Linked DNA regions of Homo sapiens: all the other regions are linked to region 2. The links are contacts of gene promoters, found by promoter capture Hi-C in blood cells and fetal thymus (Javierre and others, 2016). All regions are on one chromosome and are shown on one strand. Each heading gives the region's core, a stretch centred on a gene start or on the middle of the fragment in contact. The rest is flanking DNA. Distances are from core to core; before and after follow the strand shown.

Region 1 (2,700 bases), core at 121-2,620, 6.2 Mb before region 2:
TGCACTTCAGGCAGCAAAGCTTGAGATAGACCGAAGGGAATAAGGAAGACCAGAGGGGTTAAAGAAACCAGGGCAGGGGTGCAGGTAAGAAACATCTGAGCACCAGACGTTGACAGAAAATGCAGAGGAAGGGACACTCCGAGAGGGCCTTCAGGGTTTGTTATAAAGTGAATTCATAATAGACCATTCCACTAGGTCTCTCAGGTGTCCCTGTTCACTTAGTGTCTTGGAGGTTTACTTACGCAAAGTTAGAAACAATACAGTTCCCCTATGGACTCTTTGTTTGACTTAGTGCTAGTTACACAACCTCGCGGAACCTCCTTTTCCAGGGGGAGGTGATAGGCCTCCGTCAAGCTGAAGACTTGACAGTGATATTAAATGGAGTGACTTAGAGGGGCTGCACAGTGGTTGATCCACGGTAGGCACTCAGTATTTGTTTCCTTTCTAGAAAGAAAAAGTTTCAAGCTAATTGTATTATGTATTCCATTTTATTTTCCACTTAACAGGGACCTGCAGAGAAAATAACATCCAATACACACACCTGGTGTAACAACATAACTAAAACTAGGTTGTTTTGCATCAGCCATTTTGTTCAAACTGCATGCATTTGTGCCCAGAAGTCGCACACTCTGAGACAGGGTTATTTTACAAAACTGGGGACTTGGGCCCAGAGCAGTTGAGAAATTGTTCTGAAGAGCAGTTGCTACTAAAGAGCATTACCATGGTCAGGGCCACCGCTGTCAGAGTCAAAGCCAGTGGTCTAGAGCAGCATTCTCAAGTTTGGCATATTGACATTCGAGGTCGGATCATTCTTTGCTGTGGGAGCTCATTTGGACAGTAACCTGGGTGTTTAAGTCTCTTAAAAGAGTTGGATGCTGTTGGTAGGCATCCTGTGAGTGTTGAGGCTCAGCAGTTTAGGGATATACACTTGCTCCCTGACCTCATAGAACGTCCAGCTAACTTGAAGAACCAAAATATATGGAAATTGAAGGCAACGGTAAAAGAAATGTATAGGCCAGGACGTGAACGTTTTAATGGTAATGGTCACAGTTCTTTCTCTCTGGTCATTTAGAGCCTTAAAGGTAATATGTATTTTGTTGAGATTCTTCACTTGTTTAACACTTAACTGTATAATATTTCACCTTAAAAATGCAGGCATTGACTGGGCGCGGTGGCTCACGCCTGTAATCCCAGAACTTTGGGAGGCTGAGGCAGGAGAATCGCTGGAACCTGGGAGGCAGAGGTTGCGGTGAGCCGAGATCACGCCACTGCACTCCAGCCTGGGTGACAGAGTGAGACTCCGTCTCAAAAAAAAAAAAAAAAAGGTGCAGGCATTAGTTGGCTTAGGAAGGAATCATATTCTAAAATCCTGTAACCTAAAACAGAGCAGGCTAAGTTTCCAGGCCAGCCAGCATAATTCTGTTTTATCCATAATATGTATTATGCCTTGATGTTTGATACTCTTCCCTCTGGAAACACACAGAACTAGCAGAAGGAAGAAAAAGGTTTTTTCCACGTTGCCGAGCAGTAGGGCAAAATAGATCTCGGGATTTCGGGATCTCTCCTATTTGCCAAATTCTTTACATCCTTTTCTTTCTGCCTCTTGCTTTCTCCTTAAAAATAATAATAATAATAATTCTATTACTCAATTTGGTAGCTAAATGTGAAAAAAAAAACAGGTAACTTTTTTATTATCACTTTGACAGCTACTTACCTTCCTTAAGAGGGCCAGTTTCAGCCGGGCGTGGTTGCTCAAACCTGTAATCCTGGCACTTTGGGCAGCCAAGGCAGGTGGATCACCTGAGGTCAGGAGTTAAAGACCAGCCTGGCCAACATGGCAAAACCCTATCTCTACTGAAAATACAAAAAAAAATGAGCAGGGCGTCATGGCGCGTGCCTGTAATCCCAGCTACTGGGGGGCTGAGGCAGGAGGATCGCTTAAACCCGGGAGGCGGAGGTTGCAGTGAGCTGAGATCATGCCACTGCACTCCAGCCTTTTTGAGACACAGCAAGACTGTCTCAAAAAAAAAAAGGCCAGTCAGTAACTTTGATCTATAAATATAATTATTGGGATTTCAGGTGGGTGGAGGAAGATTTTTAAAGCAAGAGCAGTTTTTCTTTTTATTTTGTAATGGGGTCTCGCCATGTTTCCCAGGCTGATCTCAAACTCCTGGCCTCAAGCAATCCTCCTGCCTCAGCCTCCCAAGTAGGGGGGGTTGCAGGCTCTAGTACTGCATCCAGCTCAAAAGATTACAATTCTGCAGTAAATCATAGTGTGACAGTAAGGTGTTGTATGTTTACAGTTGGACTGTTTCTCATGAGTACAGGCCCCTCCTTGTCTGCAGATGGGGAACCCGCAGATGTACAAGCCTAGATGCAAGGGACTTGAGCATCTGTGAATTTGGGTATCCTCGGGGGCTCCTGGAACCTGTTCCCCATGGATGCTCAGGGAGAACTGTGGCTCCTGGAACCAATTCCCCATGGATGCTCAGGGAGGACTGTGTTGCACAGTGGTCTTGCAACGCCTGTAAGGTCATAGTCATACTGTCCCTCTTCTCAGCTGTAAATGGGCTGGTAAAAGAATCTGTCTCATTAATGTGTTGAAAATTCAGTGAGATAACACAAAGCACTTGGTTCTCTTTCTTTACGTAAGAATTGCTTATTAAAACTGGAGTCGTAAATGTTATAATACTTAAACCT
Region 2 (2,700 bases), core at 109-2,608:
ATGTTGTTCATAAATCACCCAGTCTCTAGTACTTCCTTATAGCAGAGTGGACAGACTAAGACATGAACACCTACACCAGCACTGTTAATAGGATGTGGGATGAGGGAAGTAAGGAATAAATAGCTCATAAAGGCAAAGAGGTGAGGGTGCTGGCTCCAGCTCCAAATTTCTGGCTGAGTTGGTTTTGATCCCCTCATTCTGTTTTACTCAACTAAATTAAGTGCAAAACCATCATAACTGGAAACCCACTAGAATCGCAAATTACACGGCAGCTGGTATGACGATAGCATGTCCTCCTGTGCATATGTTAAAAGCCTCTTCATCCAAAACACAGAAGGCATCAATTCATTCTCCAAATATGCATTAAGCACTTCTTTTTCCAGACAAGGTTTTAGGCCTTGGAGAATGAATTGAGTGAACTAAACAGCCAAACCTGCTGGCCAGATAAGGCACTTCAGAAAGCGTCTAAACCACCTTCCCTCATCATTTTTACTTAAAAGCTCTCAAACACACACACACACCCATCTCGAGTATAAATCTGGAAACTTAAGGGTGGGCCAAGTTCCTCTTTACCCTCCCCGCCCAGACAGGGCCATCACCGTCTCCATCCAGGTCCTCTTCCTCCTCCTCGCTGTCCTCCTCCTGCTGCTTTGCCAACTTCTTCGCCTGCTGTTCAAACCACTGGAGCCGGGGTGGTTTCTCACTCGGGTCTCGGTCGTGGGTCCCACGGCCACCAGTACCCACGGCCACGACATTCCTGGCCTCCTTTGCAGGCGCTGGGGGCGCCTTCTTGGGAGACATGGACGGCTGGGCCTTGATGGCCTGCTGGATGGCCGCGTTCATGGCATCCTTGTCCACACTGTCCACGCCCAGTCCTTTCTCCAAGTTCTTTTCATTCATCATCTCCACTTTCCGATTCACTGCCTGCACGGCCTTCTTCTCCAGCTCAACGTGACGCCGGGACTTGAGGTGGTTCTCGTAGGCGTTGAAAGAGGCAAACTTCTTACTGCAAACGGTGCAGTAGGTGGCCGAGCCCTTGCTCTCCTCCTCCGCGACGGCCCGCTGCGCCCGCACTCGCTCCTGGAAGCCCTCGGCGGTCACTGGGGCCATGCTGGCCACCTTCCGCCGCAGGTTGTAGCGGTGCCAGTCCGTCTTATAGTGGGCCCGCTGCATGTCCGCGTCGCGGAACGCCACCCGGCAAGTTATGCAGGTGTACGTCGCCATTGCCAGGCGAGAAATAAGAACCGACCAAGCCAAACACCTGGTGATCAGCGCCGTGGCCCCACAAGACCCTCAGACCTTAACCCGCCTCAGCAGCCAGGAAGAGCCACTCGACACGCCGACTTCCTGATTGTCACTGAGGAAACTTCCGGCACACGTCGGAAGTTATTCACAACTGGACAGGAAACCCGCCTCTCAGGCTGTGGCCACGCCTCCGCCGCCGTGAGGCCCAGGAAGCCGAGGGAACGCTGTGGCTGAAAGGGACCTGGGTCCGCTCAGTCAGCCCGAGGTGGCTGTTGATTGAGGGAGGTCGCGCCCTCCCAGTTACCTTCCCTGGTGGTTGTGCCGCTCGGTGTGACGCGGTCAAGGGGACGGCTACGCGAGAATGGGGGAGTGGGGCGCCCGAGGCTGCTCCTGGGCCCTGGGAAGCCCCCGATTAATGAATGGTCGGGTCAGCGACGCGAGGGTCGGGGTTTCTCTGAGGACCGCGCGCTGCACCTGCGGAGCCGGGTGAATGGATGTCGCGAAGGCAAGGGCTGCCCTTACCCCTCGGGGCCGACCTCGGAGCCCTCGCCCGTGGTTGCAACGCTTTCCCGGGAAACCGGAGAAGCCAGGCCGGGGGCTCGGCCTTTCTGAGGCGGCCCTTCCGGCGGAGGACACCGGCGGAATTTGAGTGCACAGAGTGCGCGAGAGGAGCTCCCTGTAGACACACAGTCCAAGCCACGTAGGTAATTCTAATAGCAGCCACATTTTTAAAGAGTAAAGAGAAATCGGTGAAACTGCTTTTAATGTGTTTAATTTAGCCCATCCTGTCATTTCAGCATGTAATCAGTCTAAAAGAATTAATTAGATCTTTTACGCTCTGTCGTTGGTTCTAAGTCTTGGAAATCCAGTGTGTGTTTTAGAGTTAACAGCCCATCTCAATTTGGACTAGACCCGTGCCAGGTGCCCAGTTGGCTGTGTACCCTCATGTATATAGGACAGCAAAGTTCTGTAGAAAAGAACTTCAGGCCAGGCGCGGTGGCTCACGCCCGTAATCCCAGCACTTTGCGAGGCCGAGGCGGGCGGATCATCTGAGGTCAGGGGTTCAAGACCAGCCTGGCCAACATGGCGAAACCCAGTCTCTGCTAAAAAATACAAAAATTAGTCCCGGCGCAGTGGCGCAGACCTGTAATCCCAGCTACTTGGGAGGTTGAGGCAGGAGAATCGCTTGAACCCGGGAGGCGGAGGTTGTGGTGAGCCGAGATCGCGCCACTGCACTCCAGCCTGGGCAACAGAGCAAGATTCCATCTCAAAAGAAAAAGAAAACATGAACTTCAAATGCTTGGGGAGGTCGTAGATTTCATCCACACAGCCTGGTTGAACCAGAGTCAGCCTTGTTAGAGTCGAATGTTGCATGCTCAGAATCCAGGCTGCCAAGAGAAAACCAAAAGAAGATGGCGCTTTAAAAAACCTTCCAGTGCCTTCCCTTGACTCAAT
Region 3 (2,700 bases), core at 112-2,611, 5.7 Mb before region 2:
GCAGTTCCTTAAAGAGCGCTGCCCTACGGGTTGCTGGGGAATGAAGGCCATGCCCTGTAAAGCACCTGCCCATCGTGGTGCTGACCACCACCAGGACCTCCGTCATTACATCACCACCTGAGGAAGCTTTGGGAGAATCACAGATCCAACTTCTGCTCCTCATCACCACTCTGTGGCAGGCACCGCTCTAACCACTTGGAGTCCACGCATCTTTCACTGCACAGCAGCCCCACGGAGTAGATCCTGAGGCAGGGAGAAGGGGAAGCCAGCGGCCCCAAATCGCACAGCTGGCAAGCGGCAAACTGGGTTCCACCCTTAATCGTAGGTAAGCCTTTCCTTGATCAGATTCCTTCCAGGAAGCAGAGCACCATGGCTTCTGAGAGTAACTCAAAGGAACGGCCTACAGACAGGGCCAGGTTATTACACTACCTAGATAAGGGAAGGTGAGTTTGAAATGAAAAGCTCTCCACAGAGCAGCTGCCTGCCCAAGTGGGAAGGGGAGTGGAGGAAGCTTTACCTACGGTCACATCTGGGAGGTAAGCAAACACCAAGGAGGCAAATGACTATGTGGGACCCTGGGCCAAGCATCCGTCCTCAGGTGTCAGGATGCCTGGCTGTAAGATGCAGTCACTGGTGGCTTGCTATCTGCTAGTGCCAAATAGCAAACTAGAAAATGCTACTGCGGGAAGAAGAAAGGGGAAATACTGGAAGAGTTCCATGAACCAGGGAGCAATTTCCAGCAGGGAGCTAGGAAGGGCTGTTAACTCACACAAATGTCCCAAAAGCATCCACTGCAGGTACTGGAGTATGACTCACAAGTATATGCTACCTTTGTTCTTGCCTGAGAAGAGCTATGGAAATGTTATTCAAAGGGAAGCTCTTCTACCTAAAAGAAGTGACGAAAGGTTCTGAGGACTGTTCCAGTGGAAGGAACAAAACAAAACAGAAAACAACCAGTGCTGCAGGTTATGATTAAACCAAAGGATCTCAGGTAGAGCAATGTAGTGGCAGGTAAGCAAAGGGGCTGGTGAGATTAGGTGGGTAGAACTTCCCAATGCGAACAGGGCAAGGGACTATGGCCTATCTTAGTTAAGAAAAATGACTCCACCAGGAGAGAGGAGAATCACTGGCAAGTGGAGACTCACATCTATGGAAGCCCATGCACCTGAAGGTGGGAACCCTAAAAAGTGGAGAGGATAAAGGGGTGAGAGGCGGTAAGAACGTATGCAGAGAGTGGGTACTGACAGTCTGGCCCAATAACAGACATAAGTTATAGAAGACCCCAATGAGAACCTTGCCCCCAGACCAAGTGGAGCCCTTACAGGAGCTTTCAGGTGTGCATAGATAAGGTAGAAGTAATGGTTTGTGCTAAAAAATGAGCTGGAGCCCCAGATACTTTCCTGAATTTGCACTCTCGTTGGCTTCATACTGCTATTCTGTGCTCAGAATCATAGACTGTGAAGGTGAGAAGGCTCTTAAATTACACGGAGCAACCCTGTTAAAGAATGAAGTTCAGAGACATAGTGGGACCCCCCTGGGCCAAACACTCCATCTTCCACAGCAGTGTGTGTTCCATCCTTGACATAGTTTCTGACCCAAAGGACAAAATGAGTACTGACTGGGCCAGGATGGGCACCTTGCCGGACATCTGACTGGGCCCCTTTCAAGCTGGGAGGTACATGGAGCAGCTACATGTATATCCTTGAGTGCAGGGAGGCTGATTCAAAAAGTTTAGGGGAAAGTAGGATCGGCTGCCTGGAAGTGCTTTGGAAAAGCTGTCATTGGGAATTGGTTGAGGCTAGGACTAGTCAGGTGTTTGCCAGTCTCACTCCCAGCTTCCCCGTAGTTGGATTGGGGGCATCAAACTGGGTCCTGCCCAATAGTATGGGGAAAAGTGACTTTGGTGGGCAGCATCATGTCATCACGTCCCCCCACTCTGGAACCTGTGAGTGTGCTGGGCTACACGGCCAGGGGAAATGAGGGTTGTAGATGGAATTAAGGTTGCTCATCAGCTGACTGTAAGCTGAGGAAGAAGAAGGGAAACTGCTATTCTGTGCTTAGAATCATAGACTGAAGGTGAGGAGATTATTCTGGATTACCCAGGTGGGCCCATGTAATCTCAAGGGTCTCTGAATGTGAAAGAGGGAGGCGGAAGAGTCAGGGCTCTGAGTGTGTGATGTGAGGATGTGACTGGTCATTGCTGCCTTTGAAGAAGCTTTCCTTGGCTTGTGGAGGAAGGCGCCACGAGCCAAGGAAAGTGGGCAGCCTCTAGAAGCTGGAAAAGGCAAGAAAATGGGATTCTCCCCGATCCTCCAGAAGGAACCAGTTGCCCTGTGGATACTTTGATTTTAGCCCAGTGAGACCCATCTTGGACTTCTCACCTCTAGAACTGTAACATAATAAAACTGTGTTGTTTAGAACCACTAAGTTTATTGTGATTTGGTACAGCAGCCATAGGAAACTGATGTGATGATGCATACCACTTGTGGGCCACACCATACGGACCCCAGCACGGCGACCTACACTTGTCCCCTCAGCAGCAGCCACACAATGAAAAGCTAGTGTTATACAGCAAGGGGTGTCTGGGCCTCTGAATTGCTCTTTGTTAAGAAGACCCCACCCAGGAGAGAAATAAACCTGGATTAGTTTGGCCACTGAGAATTTAGGTTGTTTGTTACAACAGGAAGTACCATTCTCTAT
Region 4 (2,700 bases), core at 92-2,591, 6.1 Mb before region 2:
GGCACATGTCTGTAACCCCAGCACTTTGGGAGGCCGAAGCGTGAGGATCGCTTAAAGACAGGAGTTGAAAATCATACTGGTCAATATAGTGAGATTGCAGTGAGCCATTATCGCGCCACTGCATTCCTGCCTGGGTGACAGTGCGAGACCCCTTCTCAAAAAAAAAAAAAAAAAAAGAAAGAAAAAAATCATAAGCAAACAACAACAAAAAAACAAATATAAAGAATGGCGGTCTGCTTAATTCTCCGTGCCAGCCCTTGAAATCAGTGGGTATTATTATGTAGAGTTTGAGTTCTTTCCTCCCTTGAGTAACATGAGTGACATCAGTAACATTAGTCAAGCGCTGCTCTTTTTGAAAGACTGTATTTCATTATTTTTATTCTAAACCTTACTCTGTTTGATGAAGATTGGGGGAAGAGCCCTCCCAATTCCACCGCTCACACATAACAGCGGTTGCTAGCATTCTTTATTTGTGCTAGGTCATCTGCATATTGTTTAAACATTTTTCGAGGCTGGAAAGACTGCTCCCACTCAGGCAATTCTGACGTGGCGGCCCTTCTAATTTATATTCTCTAAATAATTCTTCATTTAGAGAAAACAGTCAGGGATTACAGTGAGGGAGGGTGACGTGCTGACGGGGACAGAGCTTGGCTTTTGATCATTCTCCCCTTAGCTCTGCCCAGGCAAGCGTCCCTAACTCAGGGTATCGGAACCGATCTCCCTTAGAGGATTATGTTTCAACCACCAGCCTCAGCGGTTTACTCAAATGTCCTTCCAGCCAAATGCAGAAGTCTCCCTGGGAGTAATTTTGGTGAAGTCAGCTTTTGCCTTTTTCATCACAGGCAGGCTTTAGTAGTTCCTCAAAACGTGCACCACAACTGCCCGGCTGCCAAACAGAAATGCTGATGCCTGGGCCCACTCTAGCCATTTGGCCTCGGCATCACGGTGCGGGAGCGTGGGGCGCAGACTCGCATTGTCACAGGAACCTCCCGGCCTTCCGAAGAGCCCCGCGCCGGGGCCTTTGTCTCGCACGTCGGCTGGGGCGGGAGCTAGGTTCTCGCAGCCTCCTCCCACCGCTCTGCGCCTTCTTTGTCCCTCCAGAAGCCGCCATCAAAGCTCAGCTCCTGATTAGGTTTCGGCCCCGCTGGCCGGCGCAGTCTCGGCGACTACCCCAGGCGGCCTGGCGCACGCGAGGATTCGCCGCGCCCCAGATGCAGGTGCCTCCCCTCCTTAGCCGCCGACCGACAGTGCACGCCGCGGCCGCCGGAAGTGACAGCGCCTGTCGTTGGGGAGCTCCCGCCCCTTCCGCCTCGGCGCCCCGCCCAGGCCTCGCCCCTAGGTGTTCCCGCCCCTCCCCCTCCCGTGTCGCTCGCTTTCTGTCAGCCTCTCTCCCTCTCCCTCTCCCCTCTCCTTCCTCTCGCTTCCTCTCTCGCACCTGAGCGTACGCACCTGCCCGGGCCCGGCTCCCTCCTCCTCTCCCCTCCCTCTTTCCCCGCCCGGCCGCGGGAGCCTCGTGGCTGCGTCACCGCCGCCCCCCCAGACAAGATGGACACCGCGGAGGAAGGTAAGTCGGCGACGCGCGGCGCCCGAGCCCTTGCGTCGGCGCCCGGGTTCGTACCCCGGCCAGGTCCGCGGCGCTCGAGGTGGGCTGCTGGATCGCGGCGGGGCGGACGCCTGGGCCGTTTGTCCACCCGCTGGGCCTCTGGGCCGGGGAGCGGAAGGTGACCCTCTGCGCGCCCCCCGCCGTTTCCCGCCCGCGCCGCCGAGGGGGGCGGGGACCCTGCCGGGCAGGGGCCGGGGCCGGGGTCGGGGCCTCGGGGCTACTGCAGGCCGGCGTGGCCTCCCTTGTCCCCGCCGTCGCGCGCTGGCCCAGAAAAGGGGGCCTCTGTCGCTGCCGTCCGGGGGCGTTTTCCGCACCCTTCCCCCACTGGGTTTTGTCTTTCTTTACGTCCTTCTGCCTATTGCTCGCCAGGCCCTACCCCCTCGCGACAGAACTTCTTTGTTGACTTTGAAACTTCGCGAAAAATACCCCGCCAGATGACGGCCGAGTGGAGTGAGCTGACCCCTGTTGAAAAGCCTGGTCCTCGGCTTGCCTGCCGCTCGAGAATCTGTTTACTAAACGGGGAGGCTCTTTTGTTGCGATCCATTTGGTTTTAAATCCTTGACACCTATAAGCAGGGTTCTGTTTGTTTTGTTTTGCGATTGCTTGTGTTTTGGATACGGTTACATTGAACAAACTGACCCTTGTAAAATGAATACTTAAGATATAAACGTCCACACCTTATGTCTCTTCAAACGCATTTTCTTACCCACTGAAGGTAGTAGATTATTTTTAACCAGCTGTGTTTTTAAATGAGTGGTGAGTTTATAGAGGAAATTACTAAATTTTGCTTTTTTTGATGTTCCGGTTATCGTGCAAATGCTTTTCTACTTTAGGTATATTTATGGGGGTATGAGCGTCTTTCAACCTTATGGGTTGCGATTTTGGCGATTTTAAACGAAAATGAATTATCAAACGCCGTCATGGAGTGCAATAATGAGTGAAAAAAGTTTGATATTATCTATGTAATGAGTTGATAACGACTTATTTTTTTTTAAAGAAGTCTTGCCTTTAATAAATACCTCAACTATAACATGTGGCACTTGATGTACATTCGCGTTCCATCTTCGTAAAAAGCCTGTGGAATAGGTAGGTATTAT

The links. The method cuts DNA at HindIII sites, captures the fragments that hold promoters and counts their contacts. A CHiCAGO score of 5 or more calls a contact.
Region 1: a fragment that was not itself captured here is called in contact with the fragment with the promoter of ZNF622 in region 2 in 3 of 17 cell types (total CD4 T cells, activated CD4 T cells and non-activated CD4 T cells); the score reaches 12.4 in total CD4 T cells.
Region 3: a contact is called between a fragment that was not itself captured here and the fragment with the promoter of ZNF622 in region 2, in 1 of 17 cell types (activated CD4 T cells). The highest score is 5.3, in activated CD4 T cells.
Region 4: a contact is called between the fragment with the promoter of MARCHF6 here and the fragment with the promoter of ZNF622 in region 2, in 4 of 17 cell types (naive CD8 T cells, total CD8 T cells, activated CD4 T cells and 1 more). The highest score is 7.9, in naive CD8 T cells.

What each region holds. Positions count from the first base shown.
Region 1 is chr5:10,251,308-10,254,007 of GRCh38, forward strand. All of the region lies in intron 1 of CCT5 (chaperonin containing TCP1 subunit 5), which reads left to right. Among named protein-coding and RNA genes, the nearest start is that of CCT5, 2.4 kb to the left of the region's middle. RefSeq lists a silencer at 1-123. The HindIII fragment of the contact is 2,706 bases long and covers 18-2,700 here.
Region 2 is chr5:16,464,442-16,467,141 of GRCh38, forward strand. ZNF622 (zinc finger protein 622) reads right to left here and starts at 1,359. Exons shown (of 6, transcript NM_033414.3): 1 at 600-1,359. The coding sequence starts at 1,224. RefSeq lists an enhancer at 667-736 and a silencer at 2,544-2,700. The HindIII fragment of the contact is 4,211 bases long and covers 1-2,700 here.
Region 3 is chr5:10,752,987-10,755,686 of GRCh38, forward strand. The region is part of intron 1 of DAP (death associated protein); the gene reads right to left. Among named protein-coding and RNA genes, the nearest start is that of DAP-DT, 6.7 kb to the right of the region's middle. The HindIII fragment of the contact is 1,704 bases long and covers 510-2,213 here.
Region 4 is chr5:10,352,354-10,355,053 of GRCh38, forward strand. MARCHF6 (membrane associated ring-CH-type finger 6) reads left to right here and starts at 1,342. Exons shown (of 26, transcript NM_005885.4): 1 at 1,342-1,564. The coding sequence starts at 1,546. MARCHF6-DT (MARCHF6 divergent transcript) reads right to left here and starts at 1,704. Exons shown (of 3, transcript NR_183261.1): 1 at 1,619-1,704. RefSeq lists enhancers at 901-1,160, 2,007-2,578 and silencers at 1,301-1,440, 1,481-1,950. The HindIII fragment of the contact is 4,878 bases long and covers 1-2,700 here.